4 separate regions of the Homo sapiens genome follow, and all the other regions are linked to region 1. The links are contacts of gene promoters, found by promoter capture Hi-C in blood cells and fetal thymus (Javierre and others, 2016). All regions are on one chromosome and are shown on one strand. The core of a region is centred on a gene start or on the middle of the fragment in contact, and the rest is flanking DNA. Distances in the headings are between cores, read along the strand shown. Region 1 holds the start of WFIKKN2 (WAP, follistatin/kazal, immunoglobulin, kunitz and netrin domain containing 2). Region 2 overlaps MBTD1 (mbt domain containing 1). Region 3 overlaps MBTD1 (mbt domain containing 1). Region 4 overlaps MBTD1 (mbt domain containing 1).

Evidence for each region. Contacts are between HindIII fragments. The CHiCAGO score rates a contact against its expected background, and 5 or more counts as called.
Region 2: a contact is called between a fragment that was not itself captured here and the fragment with the promoter of WFIKKN2 in region 1, in 1 of 17 cell types (neutrophils). The highest score is 7.5, in neutrophils.
Region 3: a fragment that was not itself captured here is called in contact with the fragment with the promoter of WFIKKN2 in region 1 in 2 of 17 cell types (neutrophils and activated CD4 T cells); the score reaches 5.8 in neutrophils.
Region 4: a fragment that was not itself captured here is called in contact with the fragment with the promoter of WFIKKN2 in region 1 in 2 of 17 cell types (neutrophils and activated CD4 T cells); the score reaches 8.0 in neutrophils.

Annotation. Positions count from the first base shown.
Region 1 is chr17:50,833,899-50,837,644 of GRCh38, reverse strand. It overlaps WFIKKN2 (WAP, follistatin/kazal, immunoglobulin, kunitz and netrin domain containing 2), which reads right to left and starts at 2,059. Exons shown (of 2, transcript NM_175575.6): 1 at 1,498-2,059. The coding sequence starts at 1,707. The HindIII fragment of the contact is 3,752 bases long and covers 422-3,746 here.
Region 2 is chr17:51,225,321-51,229,066 of GRCh38, reverse strand. All of the region lies in intron 2 of MBTD1 (mbt domain containing 1), which reads left to right. Among named protein-coding and RNA genes, the nearest start is that of MBTD1, 33 kb to the left of the region's middle. The HindIII fragment of the contact is 9,545 bases long and covers 1-3,746 here.
Region 3 is chr17:51,198,779-51,202,524 of GRCh38, reverse strand. MBTD1 (mbt domain containing 1) reads left to right here. Exons shown (of 17, transcript NM_017643.3): 11 at 448-503; 12 at 829-933. Among named protein-coding and RNA genes, the nearest start is that of NME2, 34 kb to the right of the region's middle. The HindIII fragment of the contact is 4,729 bases long and covers 1-3,746 here.
Region 4 is chr17:51,181,234-51,184,979 of GRCh38, reverse strand. All of the region lies in intron 16 of MBTD1 (mbt domain containing 1), which reads left to right. Among named protein-coding and RNA genes, the nearest start is that of NME2, 17 kb to the right of the region's middle. The HindIII fragment of the contact is 5,892 bases long and covers 1-3,746 here.

The DNA.
Region 1 (3,746 bases), core at 810-3,309:
AGGCATCTATGGGGGAACCAGTGTCTCTCGTGTTCCCTGGGGATGCCCCAGCCTGGATCTGGAGCCTTGGGAGACTCCGTGCTGCCCTCAGAGCTGGCCAGACTGGGCAGGAAATAGCTCTGCCTGGAGCAGGTGTAGGTCCCACAGCCTGTTGCCCCAGAGGGGGTGGGCAGGAATGGCCCTCGGGAATGACTCGGGAGCTAGAAGAGAACTGGCCCTGCCCTGCAGCAGTGCCCTCTGATACAGAGCAGAAGGCAGGACCAAGGACGCTGGGAGGCTGAAACGTGGTCTCCTTCCTCCCAGGGACACCAGAGATCCATTCAGAGCTGCTCCTGCTTGGCCTGCCGTCAGCCTGGTCTTCTCTCAGGCTCAGGGTCCAAACTCCTGAGGAGGTGGCCTGGAGTCCAATGCAATCAAAGCTTTCTTGTTAGACATGAGTTCCAAGCTCATCGTTCCCTCACTGGCCATGACAACTGTGCCCTCCGTGCCTGGCTCTGTGTCCACTCTCTCACCTGTGAATGGGCTGCTGATGCCCACCATGCTGACATGTCATGCCAACATACACGACGTGCCCGGCACGGTGCTGGCCACAGTAGCCCTCAGCACGCATGAAGGAGGAATCCTCGGGCTCCAGTCCCTGATGAACTGGGACATCGCTCCCACCTCTCCTTCCAGGCTTCGGTGTTAATAGACAGGATGGTGCCCTGTTTCTCTCCAGGTGAACGGGGCCTGTGTTCCTTCACCTTCCTAGGACCTGCAGGGCACTCCTGCATGGTCCCCACCCTGTGGCTCCCACCCCCATCACTCACAGGCTCATATGGTCCATCTCTGGCTTCTGGACCCCACTCACCTGGTCCGCCTCACACTCCAGCTTCTGGATCCCACTCACCTGGTCCATCTCACACTGTGGCTTCTGGACCCCACTCACCTGGTCCACCTCATACTCCCACTTCTAGATCCCACTCACCTGGTCCGCCTCACACTCCAGCTTCTGGATCCCACTCACCTGGTCCATCTCACACTGTGGCTTCTGGACCCCACTCACCTGGTCCACCTCATACTCCCACTTCTAGATCCCACTCACCTGGTCCGCCTCACACTCCAGCTTCTGGATCCCACTCACCTGGTCCATCTCACACTGTGGCTTCTGGACCCCACTCACCTGGTCCGCCTCACACACCGGCTTCTGGACCCCACTCACCTGGTCAACCTCACACTCCCACTTCTAGATACCACTCACCTGGTCCATCTCACATTGCGGCTTCTGGACCCCATTCACCTGGTCTGCCTCACACTGTGGCTTCTGGATCCCACTCACCTGGTCCATCTCACACTCCTGCTTCCGGACACCACTCACCTGGTCCGCCTCACACTGTGGCTTCTGGACCCCACTCACGTTGTCCTCCTCACACTCCCACACAGTCCCTCCCCGACGGCTCCCACCCCCGTCACTCACAGGCTCACGTGGTCCATCTCTGGTCTCTGGACCCCACTCACCTGGTCCGTCTCACACTCCCGCCTGCAGGTGCTCTGTGCGTCCACCCAGAGGTTGGGATTCATGTCGTTGGGGCAGATGCCGGCGTGGGAATAGCGGATGGGCGGCAGCGCCAGGCTTCGCGGGGGCACCCCGAGCAGTAGCAGCAGCAGCAGCAGCGCTGCCACCTGCTCCCAGCGAGACCAGAACCGGCGACACCTTGGGGCCCACATGGTGCAGGCTGGGGCGGCTAGAGACCTCCCCTGAAACGATGCCAGGGTCTGGGGCCCACCAGGGCCTTCTTCTCAGGGGCTGCAGACACCTGCCCTCCCCACCCCAGCAGGTTTCCTGCTCAGGCTGCTGCTCAGGCTGCTCTGCCGCTGCTGCCTCCACCAAGTCAGCACAGCCTGCCGGGCTGTGCGGCTTCAGATAAAAGAAAGGTCTTTAGAAGGAAGCTCCCTCTCCTGAGTGTGCAGGGAGAGGAGCCACAGCAGGGGCCCGCGCCCGGATTTATATCCTGGGCGCGCCACCCGAGTGGGAGCCAGCTAACCTGATGCCTGTCACAGGCAGGCTGCTGGCGCCTCTGTCCCGTGGCTGATCACAGACTTATTGCAGAAGGGGGGAAAAAAAAAAAAAGAAGCTGGAAGCAGTTTAGGCAGCGTATCTGGCACGGTGGGACACCTGCTTGTTTTTGACTCCAGGAGGCCTTTAACCCCTTCAAGGGCCAGAAATGGCATGTGCTTTGCGGGGAGCTGGCTCCAGGACACGCAAGCTCACTCTGAAGGAGGGCTTGTTTCCCTTTCCCCCACCTCCTTGGGGCCGGGCCCCCTCCTCCCCTTTGGCCACCTCTAAAGAACACACAATCGCTTGTTACGAGGAGGGACCTGCAGCCACCGGGTTAGCATCGCCCGGCTTGATAGTACATTTGAGAGCAAATGACGTGGAAAAACAACAAGTTCACGGCCATTCCAGGGCGGGCCTGCGCCGCGCTGTGCCCTGTAAGCCGACTCCCACCCCGGCCCCGGCCCTTTGTGGGGGGTGTGCGCACGGACAGCTCTGTATCTCTGTGTCCAGGGCAGTTTGCGTCTTAAGTTCCAACTTCAGTTAATTTTCCCCAAATCATTCCAGAGACACATACCAGATATGCTCTGGCCCCGCCGGCGGCTGGGACGGATCACATTCCTCCCTCTTCCATCGACACACCGAGAAAACCTCCGCGGTCACAGTGTCTCAGGATTGTGCCGGAGTCCAGCTGCCCTCGCTGACGACCACAGTGGCTGCTCTTCAGTGAGCTCCTTCTGACTGCCAGCCTTGTCTGGCCTCCCCCACTTCCCAAAGGAGAAGGTCTGTGGTCGAAGAGGGCGAGCGACTTGTCCAAGGTCGCACAGAGTGAGCAGTCCTGGTGGTACCAGCTGCCAGATGCACTGGGCTCTTCACACGTGTGGCTTCTCTGAACGCATCATCTCATTTAATCCTCACAACAAACTGCACCTCCATTTCAGATCGGAGGAAAGGACGCACAGAGAGGCTAAGCAACCTGCCCATGTCGCACAGCTACCCCACCACGGTACAGGAAACAGGGACACCAGCTTGCTGGGTGTGGGCAGGGGCCTTTTAAAATCACCCCTCCCCCATCCATCTGCCAGAACTGCTGTCAAGGCACAGCCCAAACTCTGGTTTTCACAGACTGGACAAGAAATTTTTGAAACATCAGGGGCTATATTTGTGGAGGGGCCGGGAAGAGAGCCAGAAGCTGCCAGGGGCTGGGGGCGATTCCTCCCCCATTTGGCAGCAAATGGCTTCTATCTAAAATGCCACAGAGCAGCCTGCAGTCTGAGTGTTTTCGAGTTGGTCACTCGATCCTGGGGGTAGGGGGCGGAGGCACATAGAGCCCCGAAAGAGAGGTACCTTTCCAAGGCCAAACCACAAGGGCCTTGAGGAGCTGCTGTGTCCCGGGGACAGTAGGTGGAGTGGCCCCCACACGCATCAGATACGGAAGGGATCCTGAAGGTAATCTCGCTTTACAGCTAAGGAAACTGAGGCCTGAGCCCAGGCCGCTCCTTCCCCACGTCCACTTTCCCCTTCAAGAACACAGCTCGCCATCTCACAGGACTGTAAAACGGCCACGGGACCCTCGCTTCCACACCCAGACCCTTCCCCTTCCCAGCCGGGCGGGTGCTGCCTTCTCCCCGCCTGAGCTGGTCCCTTCCCGTTGTGCGGCCATTCTGCAGGATCTGTCTTTTCTGCTTATGTCAAATCGCTAATGAAGGGT
Region 2 (3,746 bases), core at 821-3,320, 390 kb before region 1:
TGAGACACTGCACCTGGCCCATTTGTTTTTTCTTTTTCTTGTTTTTTTTTTTCTGTTGTTTGTTTGTTTGTTAGGTTTAGGGACATGAGCTGGGCCTCAGCCAGTGGCCCGTCTCCTGTTTTTATTTTGCATTTGAGATACCTTTCCCTTTTCCCACCCACCCACCCCCGAGAAGGACTCTTACTCTGTCACCCAGGCTGGAGTACAGTGGCGCCATCTCAGCTCACTGCAATCTCTGCCTCCCGGGTTCAAGCATTTCTCCCTGCCTCAGCCTCCCGAGTAGCTGGGATTACGGGCGCCTACCACTGCTCCCGGCTAATTTTTTTTTGTATTTTTAGTAGAGGTGGGGTTTCGCCATATTGGCCAGGCTGGTCTCAAACTCCTGACCTCAGCCTCCCAAAGTGCTGGAATTACAGGCGTGACCCACCGCGCCCAGCCTCCCAATTTTTTTTTTTTTTTGTCCTTTTTATTGTCTCCTATTTTCTTTTCACTTCTCACAAAGCCTGTAGTTATGCAATTTATTTTGGAAATGGTTAGAGTAGCAATATTAGTTTTGTCTTGTTTTTTTTTTTTTTTCGTGGTTTGAATGAGGCAACATCTTGGAGGAGACATAAGACCAGCATTCACTAAAGATGATATAACTTCTTTGTATCTTTCTTTGAAAAGGAAATTTTTTTAATACTTCTATTTTAAGTTCATGGGTACTTGTGCAGGTTTGCTACGTGGGTAAATGTGTGTCATGGGGGTTTGTCGAACAGATTATTTCATCACCCAGATACTAAGCCTAGTAGCCTAGTACTCATTCGTTATTTTTCCTGGTCCTCTCCCTCCTCCCACCCTCTACCCTCCAATAGGCCCCAGTGTCTGCTGTTTCCTCTATGTGTCCATGTGTTCTCATCATTTAGCTCCCACTTATAAGTGAGAACATGTGGTATTTGGTTTTCTGAGGAAATACTGTTTAGCTTGAGAAAATTGGGTTGGGTTTTAAACCATTGTTTATGTTTTTTTAAAAACTGAATAAATATATATGTAGAAATATTATCTCCTACAATTTCTGAAATATTTGCCATCTTAAAATTGTAAAAGGTAAAATTTTCTTTTTTTTTTTTTTTCTTGAGACGGAATCTTGCTCTGTCGCCCAGGCTGGAGTGCAGTGGTGCAATCTTGGCTGACTGCAACCTCTGCCTCCTGGGTTCAAGCGATTCTCGTGCCTCAGCCTCCCAAGTAGCTGGGACTACAGGCATGCACCACCACGCTCGGCTAATTTGTATATATTTTTAGTAGAGACGGGATTTCCCCACGTGGACTAGGCTGGTCTCAAACTCCTGACCTCAGGTGATCTCCCCGCCTCAGCCTCCCAAAGTACTGGGATTACAGGCGTGAGCCACTGCACCCAGCTGAAAGGCAAAATTTTCTGTTAGACCCTTCAGAGCTTTTAGCAGTGATTTTTTTTTTCTTTTCCAACATGATAAAGTATCAAGCAAAGTGGTTCTTGGTTTTGAGTTTGAGACAGGGTCTCACTCAGTCACCCAAGCTGAAGTGCAGGGGCACGATCGTGGCTCACTGCAGCCTCGACCTCCTGAGGTCAAGCTATCCTCCTACTTCAGCCTCCCAAGTAGCTGGGACCACAGGTGCAAGCCACCACACTTGGCTAATTTTTGTATTTTTTGTAGAGATGGAGTTTTGCCATATTGCCCAGGCTAGTCTTGAACTCCTGGGCTCAAGCAATCCACCAGCCTTGACTTCTCAAAGTACTAGGATTACAGATGCGAGCCACCATGCCCAGCCAGCAAAGCAATTTTTTTTTTTTTTTTTTTTTTTTTTGGAGACAGAGTCTCGCTCTGTCACCCAGGCTGGAATGCAGTGGCTCAATCTCAGCTCACTGCAAGCTCCGCCTCCCAGGTTCATGCCATTCTCCTGCCTCATCCTCCCCAGTAGCTGGGACTACAGGCACCTGGCACCACACCCAACTAATTTTTTATATTTTTAGTAGAGGCGGGGTTTCACCGTGTTAGCCAGGATGGTCTCGATCTCCTGACCTTGTGATCCGCCTGCCTCGGCCTCCCGAAGTACTGGGATTACAGGCGTGAGTCACCGCGCCCAGCCCAAAGCAATTTTTAAAAACGTCTGTGTGTTGGCTGGGTGCGGTGCCTCACACCTGTAATCCCAGCACTTTGGGAAGCCAAGGCAGGCGATCACTTGAGGCCAGGAGTTCAATACCATCCTCACCAACATAGCAAAACCCCATCTCTACTAAAAGTACAAAAGTTAGCTGGGCATGTTGGCACTCACCTGTAGTCCCAGCTACTCGAGAGACTGAGGCACAAGAATCACATGAGCCTGGGAGATGGAGATTGCAGTGAGCTGAGATCATACCACTGCACTCCAGCCTGGGTGACAGAGCGAGACTCTGTCATCAAAAAAAGAAAGAAAAAAAGCATCCATATTTTCTGGATACTCCAAATTGGTCTAGAAGTTTAGTTTTAGAGATGAAAGGCAAATTTAAAAATCATGTTTGTTATGTATATTTCACCACGATTTTTATTTTATTTTATTTTATTTTTGAGACATGGTCTCTCTCTGTCACACAGGCTGGAGTGCAGTGGCATGATCTCAACTCACTGCAACCTCCACCTCCCAGGCTCTAGTGATCCTCCCACATAGCTGGGACTACAGATGCGTGCCACCACACTCAGCTAATTTTTGCATTTTTTGTAGAGTCAGGGTTTCGTCATGTTGCCCAGGCTGGTCTCAAACTCCTCAACTCCTCAAACTCCTCTGACCACCTCGGCCTCCCAAAGTGCTGGGATTATAGGAGTGAGCCACCATGCCTGGCCCACAATTATTTTTATATGGTTTTTTTGTTTTGTTTTGTTTTTTTGTGTTTTTTTTTGGTAGAGTGGGAGTCTCACCATGTTGCCCAGGCTGGTCTCAAACTCCTGGGCTCAAGCTATCATCCCACCTCGGCCTCCCAAAGTGCTAGGATTAGGCTGGGTGTGGTGCCTCACACCTGTAATCTCAGCACTTTGGGAGGCCGAGGTGGGCGGATCACCTGAGTTCAGGAGTTTGAGAACAGCCTGGCCAACATGGCAAAACCCTGTCTCTACTAAAAATACGAAAATTAGCTGGGTGTGGTGGCATGCACCTGTAATCACAGCTACTCAGGAGACTGAGGCAGGAGAATCACTTGAACCCAGGAGGCAGAGGTTGCAGTGAGCCGAGATTGTGCCACTGCACTCCAGCCTGGGCAACAGAGTGAGACCGAGTCTCAAAAAAAAAAAGTGCTAGGAATATAGGCATGAGCCACCACGCCCATCCCATAATTAAAAAGAAAAAAGAAATCTGGGCGAGGCACACTGGCTCACGCCTGTCATCCCAGTGCTTTGGGATGCAGAGGCAGGACATCCCTTGAGGCAGGGAGGTGGCTCACATCCATAATCCGAGCACTCTGGGAGGCTTGAGTGGGCAGATTGCTTGAGACGAGGAATTAAAGACCAGCCTGGGCAACATGGCAGAACCCCATCTCTACAAAAAAAAAAACACAAAAATGTTTATGGGATGGTGGCACTTGCCTGTAGTCCCAGCTACTCAGGAGGCCAAGGTGGGAGGATCATCTGAGTGCGGGAGGTGGAGGTTGCAGTGACCGAAGATTGTCACTGCACTCCAGCCTGGGTGACAGAGCGAGACTCTGTCTCAAAGCATTTTTTAAAAAAAGAAAAAAAAAAGAAAGAAAATGGTTATTTCTC
Region 3 (3,746 bases), core at 444-2,943, 370 kb before region 1:
TATATTCCTTCCACTTGTTCTCCAAAAGAAGGAACTTCTTCTGGTCACAACTATAATTGTTTCTTTCTTTTATTATTCAGCCCATTTGAAAGATCTAAAGATACCTTTCCCTTTCCATTCAATTTTAATCAAAATAGCAAGATTAAATGTGGTTAGACTTAATACTAAGCACATGAAAACATGCTTCTAAAGTTGTAATTTTCTAACTAGGGAATTACATTAAAATTATGAGCATTAAAATTGGCTGAATGTATTTAAAAGCATATATGCACATGTACTCTGAAGAGAGAAAAGACTATTAAAGAATATTCACCCCAAATGTAGAAGGCATGTCTTCTTGCCATGTTTTATAGTATGACATACTTTGTGAGTTTGAAGCCTTCAAAGAACGTGGTTTTTGGTCTTCTCACAAATGCTGACAGATTAGTGTGTAACTTTTCCTTGTAGATATTACAAAGAAACAGGATGGACATTTTGATACACCACCACATTTATTTGCTAAGGTAAGAAGTTTTTATAAGAACCCTCATTTGTAAATTAGGTTTGAAAGAGGGTTGTGGGTTTTTTCCTAAAATTACGGAAATCACAATTACATATGTTCACTTAAAAGAATTAAGACCTTGTAAATTCATAGGTGTCACAACTCTTTATTATAATTATTCTTAAATTCTATTTGTCTGAATTCTCTCTAAACCTTAATGGAAGTTTGAGTTATAATATTAGGTAGGTAGGAGAAGGCACCTGGTAAATCTTTTCACATTGGTAATATTTTAATTATCAAAATAACAACATTTGTAACAGTAGATGTGCTTTCATATAATTCTTTAGGTAAAAGAAGTAGACCAGAGTGGGGAATGGTTCAAGGAAGGAATGAAATTGGAAGCTATAGACCCATTAAATCTTTCTACAATATGTGTCGCAACCATTAGAAAGGTAAGATAATAGGTTTTAAAATATAGAAATGCAATTATAGGATTTGGGTATAAGCTAATAGAAGGAGTCCCCAAGCATATTCGTTTTGACATAAAATGTGTATGTGTATATCTTCACTGGGGAGAAGGTTGCTAGGAATTTCAAAATAAATTTGAATCCTCTGATCTTACATAGTTTATTGTCAAGATTGTCATTTTGAGTCTGCTACACTTATTTATGGAAGTATATCCTAATTTAGAGGAAAAATATTTATTTAAGTTACTTCTAGACAAGGCTAGTCCAATTCAGAATTGTAACAAGGCCAAGTTTATCTTCAGTTTCCTGTGTTTCCTCTTTAGGCCTTTTTCTTCCTTTTGGTAGTAGTTTTTGCTGCTTTTCTCTTTTCCCCCTCATCTGAAACTGCTCTTACAAAAAGACCTAGAAGAGAAATTCTTGGGTTTTTTGTTTGTTTGTTCATTTTTTTTTGAGACAGTCTCTCTCTGTCGCCTAGGTTGGAGTGCAGTAGTGTGATCACAGGCTCAAGTGACCCTCCCACTTCAGCCTTCAGAGTGGCTGGGATCACAGGTGTGTCCTATCATGCCTGGCTAATTTTCTTATTTTTATTTTTGTAGGTACAGGGTCTCCCTAGGTTGCCCAGGCTGGTCTCAGATTCCTGGGCTCAGGCAATCCTCCTAAAGTGCTAGGATTATAGGCATGAGCCACGGCACCCAGCATTTTTTTTTTTTTTAAAGACATGGTCTCACTCTGTCATCCAGGCTGGAGTGCAGTGGCATGATCTCAGCTCACTGCAACCTCTGCCTCCCAGGCTCAGGTGATCCTCCTGCCTCGGCCCCCTGAGTAGCTGGGATTACAGGTGCATGCCACCACGCCCGGCTAATTTTTGTATATTTTGTAGAGATGGGATTTCACCATGTTGCCTGGGCTGGTCTCGAATTCCTGGACTCAAGTAACCCACCTGCCTCAGCCTCCCACAGTGCTGGGATTACAGGCATGAGCCACCGTACGTGGCATTTTTTTTTTTTTTTTTTTTTTGAGATGGTATCTCGCCCTGTCACCCAGGCTGTAGTGCAATGGCGTGATCATAGCTCACCACAGCCTTGAGCTCAAGCAATTCTCCCACTTCAGCTTCCTGAGCAGCTGGTACTGCAGGCAGAAGCCACCACACCCAACCAGTTTTTTTGTTGTTGTTGTTTTCTTAGCAATGGGGTCTCACTGTTGCCCAGGATAGTCTCGAACTCCTGAGCTCAAGCAATTCTGCTGCCTCAGCCTCCTGAGTAGCTGGGATTACAGGCAGGAGCCACCTGCCTGGCTAACATTGGCATTTTTTTAAGGTCTCAGGTGAATATCATGTACAGCCATGGTCAAGAACCACCTAAGGAAAGTCTACTTACATAAAGGTGTAACTTAAATCGTGATTTGCATTTCAACAGTTTAAAACCTTCAGCTAAAAGAAAAACAATTATGATGGCCCAGGCATGGTAGCTCACACTTGTAATCCCAGCACTTTGGGAGGCCAAGGCAAGCGGATCACGAGGTCAGGATATCAAGACCATCCTGGCTAACACGGTGAAACCCTGTCTCTACTAAAACTACAAAAAATTTAACTAGGCGTGGTGGCACACACCTGTAGTCCCAGCTACTCAGGAGACTGCGGCAGGAGAATCACTTGAACCCGGGAGGTGGAGGTTGCAGTGAGCCAAGATGGTGCCACTGCACTCCAGCCTGGGTGACAGAGCGAGACTCTGTCTCAAAAAAAAAACAGAAAAAAAGAAAAAGGAAAACAATTATGATGGCTGCCATGTCACATGGTCAGACAGCTGGACAAGACTGGCTCCAAACCCTGTTCTTCCTCTTTTCCTCACTAGTGATCAGAATGACCCAATAAGATTTAAAACAGGCCGAGGGGGGCGAATCACAAGGTCAGGAGTTCGAGACCAGCCTGGTCAATATGGTGAGACCCCATCTTTACTAAAAATACAAAAATTAGCCAGGCGTGGTGGCGGGTGCCTGTAGTCCCAGCTACTCGGGAGGCTGAGGCAGAAGAATCACTTGAACCCAGGAAGGGGAGGTTGCAGTGAGCTGAGATCGCACCACTGCACTCCATCCTGGGCAACAAAGCAAGACTGTCTCAAAAAAAAAATTTTTTTAAAACAGTGATTCCTGAAACACCTTGATCATGTTAAAAAGAAAAAAAAAGGCTGGGCCCTTTTTTTATTACAATTACAGGTGGCTCACACCTGTAATTCCAGCACTTTAGAAGGGCAGATCATGAGGTCAGGAGTTCAAGACCAGCCTGGTCAACATGATGAAACTAAAAATACAAAAAAATTAGCTGGGCCTGGGGCCAGGCACCTGTAATCCCAGTTCTTGGGAGGCTGAGGCAGGAGAATGCTTGAACCCAAGACACAGAGGTTGCAGTGAGCTGAGATTGTGCTATTGCACTCCAGCCTGGGCAACAAGAGCAAAACTCTGTCTCAAAAAAAAGAAAAAAATAAAGACTGCGTGCAGTGCCTCATGCCTGTAATCCCAGCACTTTGGGACTCCAAGGCAGGTGGATCACTTGAGGTCAGGAGTTCAAGACCAGCCTGGCCAACATGATAAAACCCCATCTCCATACAAAAATTAGCCAGGTGTGGTGGTGTGTACCTATAATCCCAGCTACTCGAAAGGCTAAGGCAAGAGAATCACTTGAACCTGGGAGGTGGAGGTTGCAGTGAGCTGAGATCGAGCCACTGCACTTCGGCCTAGGCATAGAGCGAGACTCCATCTCAAACAACAACAACAAAAATCACGTGGATTCCCATGATCGACTC
Region 4 (3,746 bases), core at 435-2,934, 350 kb before region 1:
TGAAGATCACTGTGATGTTCTTACATCCAGAGGAAATTACACTACTTCTTTTGTACGAAAAACAAATTAGGATTGTAAATCCAGTGTTACCTGCTCTTTAACAGAAAAATGTTCAAAGTCTAAAGAGCGTTCCTGTTTCCTTTCTTGTCTAAGTTTTTTTCTTTTTGCACTTATTTATGAAATAGTCTTGCATTACTTAATTAAGTATGGATATTGTGAGTTCCAAATATATTTGAGCTTTTATTGGATCTTGGATGTATTTTCTTTAAGCATGAGGCTGGTTTTGAAGATGTATGTCACATTTTGTGATAGGTTACTGATTCATTTAAAATGGAACTTCTGGCACTGGCAAAACCCAAGAATTTAGAGTAGACGAACTAGATGGAAACTACCTGGCATCCTATGTGACTTCCTTCTTCCACCGATGTCTATAGTATATTCTGAGCTGGGGCACAACTTGTGGGACTTGGTGTGATTTTTCTCTGATGAAACTAAGTAGGGACTACATTGCTACCTTAACTATCTGAAAGCTATGGTTTCATTAGCTGTTGAAAGAGTTTATTATTTATGGGCTTCGTAGCTGGAAAAATATGATTTCAGTTAGCTTATCTCCTGAAATGGTAGTGATTAGTGTCAACAAAGTGACTTCCTTCTAAAAACAGAGCTGAGAAAAGAAAAGGCATTTGTGTAGAAAGTGACATTCAACCACAGGATCTGTTTTATTTCATCCATCATTTATTGAGAAGGCCTGGAAAGGAGAAATGATTCATGTGAAGATAACCAGACAGGCTTTATTTTAGATTCCATGAAAACAGTGAAACTTTACATTAAAACATTGCACATCTGAGTGAGTGTTTCACCTTTATCTTGAGTGACTTTTTTTAGCACATCATTTTCATATTTTAACATGACTAGAAGCATAATCCAGAAATTTGTTGTTAGCAGTAATGCATATTGCTTCAAGATATGCTTTAGAATCTCAACTTACCTTTCTTACATTTTTTTAAAAAACATCCGTTTGAATGAAACATGTTTGATCTTGAAGCACATTAATTCTTTTCTCATTCATTTAGCCATCCAGTCATCATAGAACAAGATACTGTTTTAATCAACCTTTTATTGTGGGTACTGCACCTTTAATGAAACTTGGGTTTTGTTTTCTTTTCCATGTGTGTATTTTCTAGGTATTGTTAAAATGGCCCTCACGCTGAATGACTGCATGCTGGCTAGATTTGAAGGATAACTGTCATGCATTTGATATCATTCCTCATAAAAGCATTTTTATTTATATTAAGTAATTTTTTAATGAAAGGAAGAACTAACTGCACAGTCTTGTTTGCTGTACCTTTGAACAGTCTGATGGGTGTTTGCTATGATTATATGCATAACGTATTCACTTTTCTGTCTTTGGTCTGTTAAATTTTTGATCACCAGTACCAAAACCAGTACCAAATAAAATAAATTGCCATCTCTCAAAAGATTATTCTTGGCCAGGCGCAGTGGCTTACGCCTGTAATCCCAGCACTTTGGGAGGTTATCCCATGTGGGGAATCACCTGAGGCAGGTGAATCACCTGAGATCAGGAGTTTGAAACCAGCTGGCCAAAATGAGGAAACCACATCTCTACTGAAAATACAAAAATTAGCCAGGTGTGGTGGTGCACGCCTGTAAATCCCAGCTACTTGGGAGGCTGAGGCAGGAGAATCACTTGAACCTGGGAGGTGGAGGTTGCAGTGAGCCGAAATTGTGCCACTGCACTCCAGTCTAGGTGACAGAGCGAGACTATCTTAAAAAAAAAAAAAAAAAAAAAAAAGATTATTCTTTAAATTAGCAAGTAAGATGTCAGCAGCCATTATTTTTAAACTAATTGCTTGTAACTAAAATCAAGACATGGGCCAGGCACGGTGGCTCACGCCTGTAATCCCAGCACTTTGGGAGGCTAAGGTGGGAGGGTCACGAGGTCAGGAGTTCAAGACCAGCCTGACCAACATGGTGAAACCCCATCTCTACTAAAAAAATAAAGACATGAATTATTTTTCTGACTGTACTATTTGACTTTAAAAGTTGTAGCAATTTTAATATTGTTCCACATGATGACACTGCCATTGCTTCATGAAAAACTTAAGTGGCATACTACCTATCCAGATACTCTGCTGAGTTCTCATTCTCATCAGTTGATTTTTTTCTCTGTATGAGCAGTTTCCAATTTACACCCCATATATGTGTATCCTCTCCATTTATTAATGAAAAGATACATAATAGAGAAAAATGAAGAACTTTTACCCTTGATCTGGAGCCAGATGCCTGCAGGGGCTGGTGGTTACCTGTGTGAGTATTGTGGGCAACCTGGGCAGTGAGCTCTGTGGTGGACAGAGATCTCAGGCTGCCCAGATTCAGGGGGTAGTAAGTAGCCAGTCAGTTCCCATTGATCACAGCTCTTTAAGGATGCTGCGCTTATGTTTCCAAGTCTATCTACTTTTCAGATTTTCATGTGAAATCTCTTGTATCGAAATATTCAGTCAAATGTGTAAAGAACCATTCAAATGTATAAAGAGGCCAGGCGCGGTGGCTGACACCGTAATCCAAACACTTTGGGAGGCCAAGGTGGGTGGATCACATGAGGCTAGGAGTTCAAGACCAGCCCAGCCAACATGGCAAAACCCCATCTCTACTAAAAATACAAAAGAATTCGCCAGGCATGGTGGCACACACCTGTAATCCCAGCCACTCGGGAGGCTGAGGCATGAGAATCACTTGAACCCGGGAGGCAGAAGTTGCAGTAAGTTGAGATCATGCCACTGCACTCCAGCCTGGGTGATGGAGTGAGACTATGTCTCAAAAAAAAAAAAAAAAATGCACAGGGCCCAGGCAGGAGTGGAAAAAGCAGTTTCTGACTTCTGATTTAGCAGATCCGTGTATGCTAAAGAAGTTGGGAAAGAAGGTAGCATTGCTCAACACGGGACTAGATTCAAGTGGATGTGTTAGCACAAAAGACCACCTCATCTGTTCTTTAAATTATTTGAGCTCAACTTTGGTTAGACGGTAACCTGAACACAGCCAGGCGCTGTGGCTCACACCTGTAATCCCAGCACTTTGGGGATATGAAACTGAAAAACCGTTTTCCATACTAAAGACCTACGGAAACATGGCTATACTGTTAATTTGTTTTTGTTAAAAAGTAAGTCATCAGATAAGAACTCAGGCAGGCACTCAGCTTTGAACTGGCCTCCCGCCTTGTCCTCCTACATAGCTGGGACTGTAAGCATTAGCCACCACACTCGGCTCAGGAGTTTAATATTAGTTTTTCTTGGTAGGAGGAGAGGTACACAGGGTCTCACTCTGCCACTCAGGCTAGAGTGCAATGACACAATCATAGGTCACTGTAATCTCGAACTCCTGGGCTCCAGCAATCCTTCTGCCTCAGTCATGAGTAGCTGGGACTACAGGCTTGCACAGCCATACCCAGCTTTTTTTTGTTTTTTGTAGAGATGGGGATTTGCTACATTGCCCAGGCTGCTACCACATCCAGCCCAGATTTACTTTTTAAAAATATATGTTACATCCTTATGTAATTTATAATTTTTTAATGTTTTTATTTAACATCAGATTTATATCTTTTTCTTCAGAGAATCTTTTTAATAAAAGTACTCCTTGAGGCCGGGCACGGTGGCTCACGCCTGTCATCCCAGCACTTTGGGAGGCTGAGGTGGGCGGATCACAAGGTCAAGAGATCAAGACCATCCTGG